Regions from separate parts of the Homo sapiens genome. Here region 2 is linked to region 1. The links are contacts of gene promoters, found by promoter capture Hi-C in blood cells and fetal thymus (Javierre and others, 2016). All regions are on one chromosome and are shown on one strand. The core of a region is centred on a gene start or on the middle of the fragment in contact, and the rest is flanking DNA. Distances in the headings are between cores, read along the strand shown. Region 1 holds the start of RBM5-AS1 (RBM5 antisense RNA 1). Region 2 holds the start of IP6K1 (inositol hexakisphosphate kinase 1).

Region 1 (7,046 bases), core at 2,704-5,203:
CAGCATTATCTAACCTAAGGGAAAAGATTTAAAGAAAACAGACAAGTTGTTTAAGTACACTAAAATCTATACTTTTCCTCAGGCTCACAGTTAACAACCCTATTTGTCAGATTTTTGTTTTGTTTTTTTTGAGAGGCAGGGTCTTGTTTGTTGCCCAGGCTGGAGTGCAGTGGTATGACCATAGCTCACTGCAGCCTTCAACTCCTGGACTCAAGCAATCCTCTCACCTAAACCTCCTGAGTAGCTAGGACTACAGGTGTGTGCCACCACACCCAGATAATTTAAAATTTCTTTTTTTGTACAGGCAGGGTCTTGCTATCTCTTGCCAGGCTGGTATTGAACTCCTGTCCTCAAGTGATCTTCCCACCTTGGCCTTGCAAAGTGGTGGGATTACAGTGAGCCACTGCTCCCTGCCCCAGTTAGTAGGTTTTAATGCATATTGCAAACAGCTGAATCCAGTCTTACCAAACTTGTCTGCTCCACATCGGAAGCATTTTAGTCTTTTCCTGAAATTGTTAAGGCAGCACTGAAAAAAAAAGTTTTATCTGTAATTATTTCTCACATTAGGCCAGGCTTTCTAGTAACAATAACAGTGGGGCCACGGGTAGGTCCCAGTAACTAACAGAAAAGCAGAAAGTCTCACGTAGCTGAGACATGGGGACATAACCTAAAAAATTCAGAATGTAACACTGTTAAAATCTCCCAAGAAAAACAAAGTTTGTTGTATGTTGAAGAAGAATCCCATTATTATCAAGCCGAGGAAAGGGTTCAGTTAATTTGAAAACTCTACAGCAAGCCACTGGTGAAGCTCTTCCTTGTATCAACAGAGCACTATACATCCCATCCTACATACACAAACACAAGGTAAACTAACCACTGTCTAGTCCCCTACTGGACAGGGGACACAGTTTGAGCACTCTCAAAATATCAATGTCAACATTCAAGTTCAAAATGGTAAACCTTATATAACTTTAGCAGGGTTCTCAACTATTTTGGTTAATACAGTTAAGAGACTACGCCAAAAACTGAGAGCTCTAGAATTCAATAAACAGTAACATGAAACACACCTAAAATCTTAATCACTGGGCTTAGAACCTGCATCCTTTTTGTTGTCCTTTTTTGTTTTTTGAGACAGAGTCTCACTCTGTCACCCAGGCTAGAGTGCAGTGGCGCGATCTTGGCTCATTGCAACCTCTGCCTCCCGTGTTCAAGAGATTTTCCTGCCTCAACCTCCGAGTAGCTGGGATTACAGGCGCGCACCGTGATGCCCAGCTAATTTTTGTATTTTTAGTAGAGACGGGGTTTTGCCATGTTGGCCAGGCTGGTCTCTAACCCCTGGCCTCAAGCTATCTACCCGCCTTGGCCTCCCAAAGTGCTGGGATTACAGGCGTGAGCCACCATGCCCAGCAGAACGTGCATCTTAATAAACGAAACCTCTAGTTCTATCATCTAATACCAGTGTAGGAGGACCCAAGGAAAGTAACAAACCATGAATATTACTGATGATTGAGTAACAATTTCCTTGTTTGGACAGTCAAATAAACAAACAGAAAAAAACAGCAATATCCTAAAGGAGTTTTGTCTATTTGGGAAGAACATATGCTTACCTTGTTACAAAGCCAATCTTCAAACTTAGGTCTGGGATTGCTATAATGCATTGCAATGTGCTTTCCTTGAATCACCAACTTTTTCTGTAAGAAAAGAAGTAATTAGTTATTCCCATTGTGAGGAACATGTGTCCATTTTCCCAGGGCAGAGCACACTTCGGAAAAATCAGTGCTCTGGAATTAAATGGACAACATACGGGGAGGACCAACCACCGCCACCTATACTCTGCCCATCCAATCCTTCAGATAGGCAGTAAGAGAATGGGATGCGGAGTAAAGGTAAACGGAGTCAGGGAGTGCTGAGAAAGCTGTCAAACACTAAACGCTGACTTGCACCAGGCCGTGTCTCCAGCGGAGACAGAAGTCCTAACATTCAGCATTGACAGGCTGCCTGAGTGTGACAGTCTACTTCAAAAAGCAGAAGACACAATTCTCTCAGTTCTGAGACTGTCTCTTACTTTTGCCCTTAGCATGGTGTCCTTGGGCTTCGCTTCACCTTTTTCCCCAGTCCCCCATCCTTATGCAAAGTAAAAGCCTTTACATTTCTCCTTCCCCCCACACCTTCTGCTTCAGGATGAGTCCTTTGGGGGGAAAGGGAGGGGAACTCATTTTTAAAGGGAATCTGGTTACAATTCTTTCTCAAGAGGGACTATTCTGAATGCCACCAACTCTAAAACAACTAAATGAGATTTTTTTTTTCCTGTCAACTGCAACCATGTCATGTCCTAGGTGACAGATGTGTTTTTCACTAAAATGGATGGTACTCTCTTCAAGGTGAGTAACCAGGAGGCCAATGAAGTTTCTTCAGGGGGGTAGGAAAAGCTCATAAATGCACACACCACCTCATCCTTCAAGTCAACCATGTGACTACAAGGACTTAGCTTTAAAAAGTCAAAATTCTGAGCTGAATCAATCTAGCCAAGAGTATACCTAGCACCTACCCCTAAAGAGCCTTCATTTAACAGGAGCATCTTTTCTTTTTCTTGGGGGTGGGAGGATCAAGGGTGGGGGTGGTTTGACACTATCAAACAGATTTAAGTAGGTGGTTAGATATCCAGATTTTAAAAAGGAGTCTAACCCCTCTAAACATACATACTGTTGAGCAATTTGGTTCTTGCAAATCCTGGAAGATTTAAGACATGCTGTGAATTTTGTCTCTGCGATATCTAAAGGCAAGACTGCATGTCTGGCCAGGAGAGAAAAAGCTGAAGGGCCATCCACTCACTGTGATATACAGAAGCAAAAATAAAAAAGCTGGGAGATATGTGAATAGATCATCCCACTAGGAGGGATGTGTGCTGGGAGACTCCAAACTACCAGTGAGTCCCTAATCCTACTGGCCTTTTATTTCTGGAGTGAATTTGAACTGTAATGTGTTACACAGTAACATAGCTTTGTATACATTAAAATTGTGGAGACTTTTAAATGTCTTACAGGTTTTAGTTTCTTAGGAGTTTTAAACTCCTAGGTTAGTCATTCTGACATATCCACTGCATCAAACAATGCTATCATGTCAAGAAAGCAGACTCACATGAACCTTGTATATGTTCTGGATTTACTAGGATGGTATCTATGGTATGAAATGAATGAAGCTCTACTTTTAATAAAATCAGGCTGTGATTTCTGGGTTAGGAAAATGAGAGGCTTAAAAACTTTAACAAATCAGTCAGTCAAAGTGATACCCTCATTAGTGAGTCTTGTTATAAATGGCAATATTACCAATCAAAGAATGTAACTTTTATTCATGGATTCATGGATGACTCAAATCACAGAATGCTGCAGAAAAGCAAGATAATGAGTCAAGCAAACTTCCCAGAATGCACTTGGTTAAAGGCATTCAATAATGTGCCTTGGAGTTCTTGCAAAAAATGTTATTTAAGTGCCAAGCACTGAACATTATCTTGACAAACTGAAGAACACTTCAGTTAACACTACCTCGAAGAACCATCAATGACTTGCTTTGAACAGACTATAAAAGGCATTCTCAAGGAGATTAGAATGTTAATGCCACTCTAACTAGATTAGACAGCTGCAGGACACCACTCCCAGGCTAATCTCATCAGACTTATTGTTCATAAATTCCACTAAGTCCTTAAATATTCCCTGAAGACCGGTCTGAGCAGTTACGCCTCCAGGAGGCTTTGTGGTCTTCAGGCAGAAATAAGGAATTACTTATAAAAATGCCGCCACAGACTTTCACTATGTTCTCTTCACTGTCAAATGGAGAGTTTGATATACTAAGCTTACTCTCAATGGACATAATAGGAATATAACAAACTAGAAAAAAGGGAAACATTAAGATGTTTTAGTGATTACCAGACAGGTATTCAGTAGTTAACAAAGCCCTGCCAGGTAGGTAGCCATGTTTAAAGGCAGAACAAATTCTATAATGAAGTCCTTGGTACTGTACTTATTCTAGTAACATCAATTTTAATATATACAAAGCTTTTTTTTTAAAAAAAAGTCACTCCTTTGGAACAAACCACTCCTTCAACCTTTTTTTAAAATTGTACAGACTTGTTCCATTTTCATGAATATCTAGACTTGGTGAGTGAAGCAACCTGATTGGCTTCCATCCAGCTGGTAGCATCTTGCAAGTGATAAAACTCCACGAAGGCGAAACCACGGCTTACACCTAGAGACAGCATTCAGATATAGACGGGATACTTGTGTTAGTCAGTTCCTTTATAACAGGTGAATCTCTCTCCCACTGCTTCAACACTGCGTGACAAAGCCAATTGGGAAGCAGCTTTACAAATGTGACTTGACTTGGGGATCTTCTTGATACTTTGCCATGGCAAGGAACAAGCCGCCTGAACTAAATGCCACTCCATTTGATTCCACGCTTAAAGTAACCATGCAACCGACTATAGTCAAAAAAAAAAAGGAGTTTATAAATCATTACTTACCTAAGGAAAAAAAAGTCCCTAAAACAAAGTTTAAAAAAGTTCCTCAGATGCTAACATGGTTTTCAAAGAGTCACATTCCTTAGCCATGGCAAACCTTTCATTCTGAATTCATGTGCTTGAAGACTGGGGGAATCAGGATGTTCTTTAGGGACTGAGGTGGGAATGGGGAAGAGAACAATAATATCAGGAACTAAGCAAGCTCTCACCTGTTTTCCTCTTCATCAGCCTCACATCCGCAGGCTGAGGGCCTTCGAAGGACTCCATCATTTCTCGAATCTGCACAGGGTTTTACATTATTTACAGTTAAAGCTTTTGCCACACACTATTCCCCATGGAATAGGAATTACATCAACTGTTTAATTAGCCAAGTTTTTTTTTTTTTTAAGATGGGAGTCTCTGTCTCTCACTCACTTGATTGCCCAGGCTGGAGTGCAGTGGCATGATCTCAGCTCACTGCAACCACCACCTCCTGGGTTCAAGCAATTCTCCTGCCTCAGCCTCCCGAGTAGCTGGGATTATAGGTGTGCACCACCATGCGTGACTGATTTTTTTTTTTTTTTGAGACGGAGTCTCGCTCTGTCACCCAGGCTGGAGTACAGTGACGTGATCTCGGCTCACTTCAACCTCCACCTCCTGGATTCAAGCGATTCTTCTGCCTCAGCCTCCCAGGTAGCTGGGATTACAGGCATCCACCACCACATCCAGCTAATTTTTGTATTTTTAGTAGAGACGGGGTTTCACTGTGTTGGACAGGCTAGTCTCGAACTCCTGGCCTCAAGTGATATGCCAGCCTCCCATATCATTACATGCATGACCCACCATGCCTGGCCTAATTAGCCAAGTTTTTATCTTCTATCACCAAAATGCAATTTTCCTAAAAGGCACAAAAAAGAGAGAACATTTCTCATAGAAATTAATGCATTATAACAGCACTGAAGGCATTCATTAAATGTTGCATGGGAATTTCCCTCAGGTGTAATTAATTTTTCCTTTTTTTTTTTTGAGACAGGGCCTAGCTCTGACACCCAGGCTGAAGTGCACTGGTGTGATCTCAGCTCACTGCAACCTCTGCCTTCCTGGACTCAAGTGATCCTCCCACCTCAGCCTCCTAAGTAGCTGGGACTACAAATGCACACCACCACACCTGGTTAATTTTTGTATTTTTTGTAGAGACAGAGTTTTGCCACGTTGCCCAGGCTGGTCTGGAACTCCTGGGCTCAAGCGATCCGGCCACCTTGGCCTCCCAAAGTGCTAGGATTACAGGAGTGAGCCACAATGCCTGGCCGCAATTAATTTCTGTTATGATACACATCCTTGCTTGTGGTATGATGTCTCAAGCCTCCATCCTTTAGTCTAATCTCCCTGTCCTTTGTTCTGCAGGATAGTACAGTGGCTCAAGCCTATAATCCTAGCGCTTTGGGAAGATGAGGCAAGATGAGCGCTTGAGCACAGGAGTGTGAGACCAGCCTGGGGAACACAGTAAGACCCCATCTGTATACAAAAATTTTAAAAATTAGGCCTCGCATAGTGGCTCACGCCTGTAATTCCAGCACTTTGGGGGGCCAAGGCAGGTGGATCACGAGGTCAAGAGATGGAGACCATCCTGGCTAACACAGTGAAATCCCGTCTCTACTAAAAATACAAAAAATCAGCCAGACGTGGTGGCACGTGCCTGTAGTCCTAGCTACTTGGGAGGCTGAGGCAAGAGAATCGCTTGACCCCGGGAGGCGGAGGTTGCAGTGAGCCGAGATCGCGCCACTGCACTCCAGCCTGGGCAAGAGTGAGACTCCGTCTCAAAAAAAAATAATAAAATAAAATAAAAATTACCCAAGCATGATGGTATACACCTGTAGTCCTAGTTACCTGGGAGGCTGAGGTGGGAGGACTGTTTAAGCCCAGGAGTTCGAGGTTACAATGGGCTATTGCACCACTGCACTCCAGCCTGGGTGACAAAGTGCAACCCTATCTTTAAAAAAATAAAAAAATAAAAATAAGGACTCAGATGAGATTTAAAAGAGGCAGTGGATGCGTCACTGTGCCCTGAAGTACGCCTAATCAAGAATAGCCTTCCTGCTCTTTGAGGCCTACTCTCAAAATAAGGAAAAAAATCAACAGCCAAAAAATGAAGAGCCTGATGATAAACTTTTTTTTAAATTTTTTTGAGATGGAGTCTCACTCTGTTGCCCAGGCTGGAGAGCAATGGCATGATCTCGGCTCACTGCAACCTCCGCCTCCTGGGTTCAAGCAATTCTGCCTCAGCCTCAAGAGTAGCTGGGACTACAGGCGCATGTCGCCACACCCAGCTAATATTTTATATTTTAGTAGAGAGGGGTTTCACCATGTTGCCCAGGCTGGTCTCCATCTCTTGGGCTCAGGTAATCCACCCACCTTGGCCTCCCAAAGTGCTGGGATTACAGGCGTGAGCCACCGCACCAGGCCAGGTAAACATTTTTAATGGATCATACTTTTCTTACAGTTAAATTATTGGTAAAAATTTTCAAAGTTCATCACATTCTTAGGCTCCTAATAA
Region 2 (7,046 bases), core at 3,088-5,587, 310 kb after region 1:
GAGACTACCTGTTTAACACACACACAGGAGCCCGGCGCTGGCTCTGAGGCCAAGTAGCTGTCTTACTATGTGTGGAATTTCTTTTTCACACCATCATGGGCTGTATTTTCAAGTTGATTCATAATAAACAAAATTACAAAAAGAAAAGTTCTAGCCTTGTAGCCAACGTGTGGGAGAAGCTCTGAAATCTGTGCCTCCTTGTTCTCACTTGGACAACTCCCTACCTTGTGAGCAGACTCTAGGGAGCAGTAAGGTTTTCCTTTTCTCTTTCAGGGTTTTTTTTTTTTAGACAGGGTCTCACTATGGTGCCCAGGTTGGAATGCAGAGGCTATTCATAGGTGTTATCATAGCACACTATAGCGTCTAACTCCTGGCTTCAAGAGAGCCTCTCATCTCAGCCTCCTGGGTAGCTGGGACGATGGGCGCACCACTGCACCTGGCTTTATTTTTCTTTTAAGAAGGTATTGTGTGATGCTCAGACTGACAGTGTGACTGATGCTCTATAGAAGTAATAGGCTATCATCCTTGTCAGTGACTGAGGGGCCTCCAATCAGCATGTCTCCTCAGGGCCACCTGCTTCCTTTTCCTATCCAGAAGAGAGAGAACAATGCTGCGTGTGTGTGTGTGTGTGTGTGTGTGTGTGTGTGTGTGCGCGCGCGCGCGCGCATGTGTGTGAAGGAGAGAGGGGGCGGGGAGAGGGAGAGAGGGGGAGAGAGAGAGAGAGAGAGAGAGAGAGAGAGAGAGAGAGAGAGAGAGAGAGAGAGAGAAAGATAGGGTCTGGCTGTCTGGCTTTGTTGCCCAGGCTGGAGTGCAACGGTGTGATTGTGGCTCACTGTAGCCTTGACCTCCCAGGCTCAATCGATCCTCCTACTCAGAATCCCAAGTAGGTGGGACTACAGGCATGGACCACCATGCCTGGCTAATTTTTAATTTTTTTGTAGAGATGGGATCTCTCTATGTTGACCAGGCTGGTCTTGAATTCCTGGGTCCAAGCCATCCTCCCCCTTCAGCCTCCCAAAGTGCTGGGATTATAGGTGTGAGCCACCGTGCCTAGCTCACTGTTGCTTTTGTTGTTGTTGTTGTTGAGATGTTTCTCTTTTTAATTTTTTTCTTAATTTTTAATTTTTGTGGGTACATAGGTGTATAAATTTGGAGGTACATGAGATGTTTTAATAAGGCATGTAATGGTTAATAATCACCTCATCGAAAATGGGGCATCCATCCCCTAAAGCATTTATCCTTTGTGTTACAAATAATCCAATTATACTCTTTCAGTTATTTTAAACTGTACAATTAAGTTATTATTGACTACAGTCACTCTGTTGTGCTATCAAACACTAGGTCTTATTCATTTTTCTTTTTTTTTGGTACCCATTAACCGTCCCACCTCCCCACCCCTTCCAGACTCTGGTAACTATCCTTCTACTCACTATCTCCATGAATTCAATTGTTTTGTTTAAATCTTTTTCCTTTTTTTTTTTTTTGAGATGTAGTCTTACTTTGTCACCCAGGCTGGAGTACAGTGGCACGATCTTGGCTCACTGCAACCTCCGCCTCTCATGATCAAGCAATTCTCGTGCCTCAGTCTCCTGAGTAGCTGGGACCACAGGTGTGCACCACCATGCCGGCTAATTTTTTTATTTTTTATTTTTAGTAGAGATGGAGTTTTCCTATGTTGGCCAGGCTGGTCTTGAACTCCTGACCTCAGGTGATCCTCCTGCCTCAGCCTCCCAAAGTGCTGGGATTACAGGCATGAGCCTCCGCACCAGCCAATCTCACAATCTCATTCTTTTTAATGGCTGAATAATATTCCATTCTGCATATGTACCATATTTTCTTTTCTTTTTTTTTTTTTTGAGATGGAGTCTCGCTCTGTTGCCCAGGCTGGAGCACAGTGGCGTGATCTCGGCTCACTGCAAGTTCCGCCTTCTGGGTTCACGCCATTCTCCTGCCTCAGCCTCCTGAGTAGCTGGGACTACAGGCGCTTGCCACCACGCCCGGCTAATTTTTTGTATTTTTAGTAGAGATGGGGTTTCACCGTGTTAGCCAGGATGGTCTCCATCTCCTGACCTCATGATCCGCCCGCCTCGGCCTCCCAAAGTGCTGGGATTACAGGCGTGAGCCACCGCACCCGGCCCATATGTACCATATTTTCTTTATCCATTCACCTGTTGATGGACACTTAGGTTGCTTCCAAATCTTGGCTATTGTGAATGGCACTGCAGCAAACATGGAAGTGCAGATATCTTTTTGATATACTGATTTCCTTTCCTTTGGGTACATACCCAGCAGTGGGATTGCTGGATCATGTGGTAGCTGTATTTTTAGTTTTCTGAGGAACCTCCGAACTGTTATCCACAGTAGTTATACCACTGTTGCTTTTTGAGGGTCCCATCAAACTTCAGGGCAATTTGCCAACTGTATGTGGAGGTTTTCTTGGGAAGGATCTGGAGCTTTTGCACTGCGGTGAGGGGTGATGCAGACTTGAGAATCCTGTGGCATGGCTGGTCCTGGAGGATTAGCAGAATCCCCCTTTTGAGGGTTGTTGGCTTTTCTTCCTGATCTGTTTCTTCTGGTTCCTCTGCTCTCACATCTCCCTGTGTTGACCTGAGCTATTGCATGTAGCCAAGTGGCCTGCAGCAATCTGCTGGTGGGCAGGTCTTGCTGGATGCAGTGTTGGCCCACTCTCCATGCCCAACCTGACATCAGGTCTCAGGCTTCTGCCAGCTCTCCAAGAGGACCTTACTGTGGTAAATCCAAGTTATCACAGTCTTTACTCGTCTGTTGAGTCTGTGGGCCTGAACCCCCTCAGGGTACTGGAGAACCTCCCTTTTTTTTTTTTGAGACAGAATTTTGCTCTGTCACCCAGGCTAGAGTGTGGTGGCGTGATCTCAGCTCACTGAACCTCTGCCTCCCAGGTTCAAGTGATCCTCCTGCCTCAACCTCCTGAGTAGCTGGGATTACAGGCACCTGCCATCACGTCCAGCTAATTTTTGTATTTTTAGTAGGGACAGGGTTTCACCATTTTGGCCAGGCTGGTCTCGAACCTCTGACCTCAAGTGATCCACCTTCTTTGGCCTCCCAAAGTGCTGGATTACAGGCATGAGCCACTGCGCCTAGCTAGGAGGACCTCCCCTTCTGAACCAGTTATGGTATCCCAGGGCCAGGAAGAAGCTGAAAGCCTTCTGTGGGAACAAAACAAAGCAAAACAAAAACGCTTCATGGGGCTTCCACCAAAGTTAGTGTTTTAAGGCACGCCTCAGGAACAGCAACTTGGAAGCAGGTTGTTCCAGGAAGTGGTTGTAGGCAGATTTTTCCTGAGTTCTTCCCCTGCTCTGAGGGCTCATTAAATCTTCCTCTGAGAAGCTCCACTTTTATCTTCATTTTACAGATGGGACAACCAAAGCTAAAGAGAGGCTAAGGCTCAAAAGTCAGAGTTAGCTAGTTGGGGCATTTGGGTGTGGGCCCAGGCCACGTAACTTCATCTGTTGTTCTAAGCCTGAAGCCAAGCCCAGAGTTAGGTGTTCTGTATGGGGAGCAAGGTGTGACCATCTTCCTGGGACCATTAGTCTGCTTGGGAGGCCGGTCATGACAGTCCAGGGCAAAAGATGCTGTCACAGGATCTCAAGACAAGATGCTCTAGGGAAGAGAAAAGGGAGTGCCCGCTGTGTGTCAGGACTTGTGCTAGGCTCTAAACCTCAGGCAGGAAAGCATGGGCAATGAGCCAGAGGCTGCTGTGGCAGCACAGACTGCGGTACCTCGAGGCTAGTAAGGGACAAAGCGTGGGAAGCTGGGATAGAGGCTCCTCACACTCTGAAACCAGCAGGAGGAGGTGCGAGACCCAGCACCTCCATTTCTAGAGGTGGCGTGACCTTGGCTCGGCCTCCCCTCTCTGAGCCTCAGTTTCCTCTCCAGAGTGAACTGGGGGCTGCACCCCCCTTCTCCCAGAGTGGGGGACAAAAAAACGAATAGCACACCGCTGAGATTCCCTGTGTGTGCGCAAGTGTATGACAAGACGCCGCCGGTACCGCACGAGGGCCAGGGACGCAGAGAGGCCAAGGGCGCTCCGGCCTCGTAGTAGCCAGCGAAAACTCCGCCGCCAGCCACTCCGGGAACGAAGCGCATGCGCCAACCCATGCCGTCACAGTCACGTGCCCCACGCTTTCGGCAGAGGCCCTGAGAGGCAGACTCTGACTGACACGTGAGCTGACCTGTCAGCAGGAAGCACTTCCCCTGGCGACGAGCAAAAAGACTGTTGATTGGGGATAGCACCCCCTCGGGGGCGGGTTCTTTGCAGTCCTGGTTACTATGACGCCCGGCCCCCGCCCCCTCGGCTAGCCGCCATCTTGTTGTTGATCCGTACCCAGTGGGCAGCGCCGGGAGCTGGACCAAGCGGCCGGTGAGAGGCCGCTGTAGCGGTGCTCAGCCACCTGTGCTGCCTGCCAGGGGGCGGGCCGAAACCTGGAGGCCCGGGGGGCCCAGCTCCCGTAGGGAGCCGTGGGCGCTCGGTGCCCGGGCCGGGCAGGTGAGTGACAGGAGCCGGGCCGATAGACCGGCCTGACGCCCGCGGGGAGGGCGGTGGCGGGCGCGGGGTTGGAGTGGGCGCGTGTGGGGTCGGGGCTCCGGTGGGGCCATCACTGGAACATCGCTCGAGCGTCCTGACCGGCCGCCCGCCGAGCCTCCCAGATGCTGGCACCGAAGCCGGGGGGACAGCCGGTGTGGAGGACGGAGAGCGCCAGTGCCTGAGGGTTGGCCGGCTAGTAGCGGGAAACCAGCTTCTCTGACCGAAGCTCTGGACTCCGCTGATCCGGAGCGCTAAAGTGTGTCCGGTGCCACCCTGATGCTCTCCTGGGAGTTATGTTGCTCCTGGCTGAGAAATAGACTTACCTCTTTCTTAGATAGCGTTCCTGCGAGTGATTTTCAGGACGCTGGATGCTAAGACTAGACGAAGCAAGCCAAAGCCCCCGCGAGCCAGGCAGGCCGGTGTCACGGCCCTATGATTATGGCAAGGGGGACCCTCTGCCTGGCTGCTGCTTCCTGAGACCCGTTCGGAACCTCACGTGTACCTCGAAGCTCACCGTTTTCCTCGCAAAGAACCTGGTTAAATGTCCATAATGGCTGAGTTTTATTTTGGAACATAATTTCTTTGGTTCTTCACCACCACTTTTTGGAGAGTGGTAATGTCTTCCTCTTTTTGCTTTAGGAGAAAGTGAGTATTATGGTGATGACTTGATTTTATCTCCTAAAGGGATGCTCGCCATAGGAGACAAAGGAAACGTAGGAGTGTCTTAGAATCGGAAAAAGAAACTTGTTTTTGTTGTGGATGATATGGAACTGGCAAATTAACTGTTTTTTTTCTTTTTTTTCTTTTGAGACAGAGTCTCTCGCTCTGTTGCCCAGGCCGGAGTGCAGTGGCGCGATCTCGGCTCACCACAGCCTCCACCTCCCGGGTTCAAGCGATTATCCTGCCTCAGCCTCCCGAGTAGGTAGGACTACAGACACGCGCCACCATGCCCGGCTAATTTTTGTATTTTTAATAGAGACGGGGTTTCACCATGTTGGCCAGGCTGGTCTCGAACTCCTGACCTCGTGATCCACCCCCCTTGGCCTCCCAAAGTGCTGGGGTTACAAGTGTGAGCCACTATGCCCGGCGCAAATTAACTTTTAACAGTACTAAAATTATCTTGCTCAGTGAAAACACCTTCAAGCCCCTTTCCTGTGAATTTGGGCAAGTTGGAGATCCTCAGTAGAGTGTGCAGGTCTAGGAAGAGTTCTCATTGCTCCAAAACACATTTCTCTTGACCTGTGGCCTCTTTGGTTCTTTGTACAGTCTTCTTGTATGTGGTCATAGAATATGCCTGCATGAGATGACTAAGAAGTCAAGCGACAATACTTTGTGCACTTTTTGTTTTGTTTTGTTTTGTTTTGTTTTTTTGAGATGGAGTCTTGCTCCGTTGCCAGGCTGGAGTACAGTGGTGCCATCTCGGCTCACTGCAACCTCTGACTCCCTGGTTCAAGCAATTTTCCTGCCTCAGCCTCCCGAGTAGCTGGGACTACAGGCACGTGCCACCACACCTGGCTAATTTTTGTATTTTTAGTAGAGACGGGGTTTCACTATGTTGGCCAGACTGGTCTCGAACTCCTGACCTCATGATCAACCCGCCTCCGCCTCCCAAATTGTTGGGATTACAGGCATGAGCCACCGCGCCAAGCCTACTTTTTTTTTTTTTTTCTGAGACGAAGTCTCGTTCTCTCACCCAGGCTGGAGTGCAATGGCACAATCTCAGCTGACTGCAACCTCTGCCTCCTGGGTTCAAGCAAGTCTCCTGCCCCAGCCTCCCAAGTAGCTGGGATTACAGGTGCGTGCCACCATGCCCGGCTAATTTCTGTATTTTTAGTAGAGACCTGGTTTCACCATGTTGTTCAGGCTGATCTCGAACTCCTGACCTCCTGATCCGCCTGCCTTGGCCTCCCAAAGTGCTGGGATTACAGGCGTGAGCCACTGTGCCTGGTCACGCGCCTAGCCTACTTTGTGCACTTCTATCAGGATCTTGTCACCTCTGAATGTATAATTTTGAAAGAGGCCAGGTGCGGTAGCTCATGTCTGTAATCCCAGCACTTTGGGAGGCTGAGGCGGGCGGATCACCTGAGGTCAGTAGTTAAGAGATTAGCCTATCCAAAATGGCAAAATCCCATGTCTACTAAAAATACAAAAATTAGCTGGGCGTGGTGGTGCATGGAGGCTGAGGCAGGAGAATCACCTGAACCCGGAAAGCGGAGGTTGCAGTGAGCTGAGATCGCGCCACTGCACTCCAGCCTGGGTGACAGAGTGAGACTCAGTCTCCAAAAATAAATAAATAAATAAATAATAAATAAAATAATAATTTTGAAAGAAACCAGCTCCTTGGTCAGGAGATCCTTTAGGAAAGCAGGTGCTGAACCCAGAGGACGCTGGCAGCTTGTTGCTGTTCGACTGAGTTTATACTGCACTTGTGAGGCAAGGGAGAAGTTGAGTAGTCTTTAGTTATTTATTTCATTGTCCTTCA

Evidence for each region. The method cuts DNA at HindIII sites, captures the fragments that hold promoters and counts their contacts. A CHiCAGO score of 5 or more calls a contact.
Region 2: the fragment with the promoter of IP6K1 here is called in contact with a fragment that was not itself captured in region 1 in 4 of 17 cell types (endothelial precursors, erythroblasts, naive B cells and 1 more); the score reaches 6.8 in endothelial precursors.

Annotation. Positions count from the first base shown.
Region 1 is chr3:50,097,728-50,104,773 of GRCh38, reverse strand. RBM5 (RNA binding motif protein 5) reads right to left here. Exons shown (of 25, transcript NM_005778.4): 5 at 4,723-4,792; 6 at 4,169-4,242; 7 at 1,608-1,691; 8 at 466-526. It overlaps RBM5-AS1 (RBM5 antisense RNA 1), which reads left to right and starts at 3,786. Exons shown (of 1, transcript NR_045388.1): 1 at 3,786-5,171. RefSeq lists a silencer at 4,131-4,331. The HindIII fragment of the contact is 203 bases long and covers 3,852-4,054 here.
Region 2 is chr3:49,783,833-49,790,878 of GRCh38, reverse strand. IP6K1 (inositol hexakisphosphate kinase 1) reads left to right here and starts at 4,337. Exons shown (of 6, transcript NM_153273.4): 1 at 4,337-4,525. CDHR4 (cadherin related family member 4) reads left to right here. Exons shown (of 19, transcript NM_001007540.4): 19 at 1-147. The coding sequence ends at 47. RefSeq lists silencers at 2,484-2,693, 3,474-3,638, 4,374-4,723 and enhancers at 3,814-3,883, 3,970-4,659. The HindIII fragment of the contact is 18,469 bases long and covers 1-7,046 here.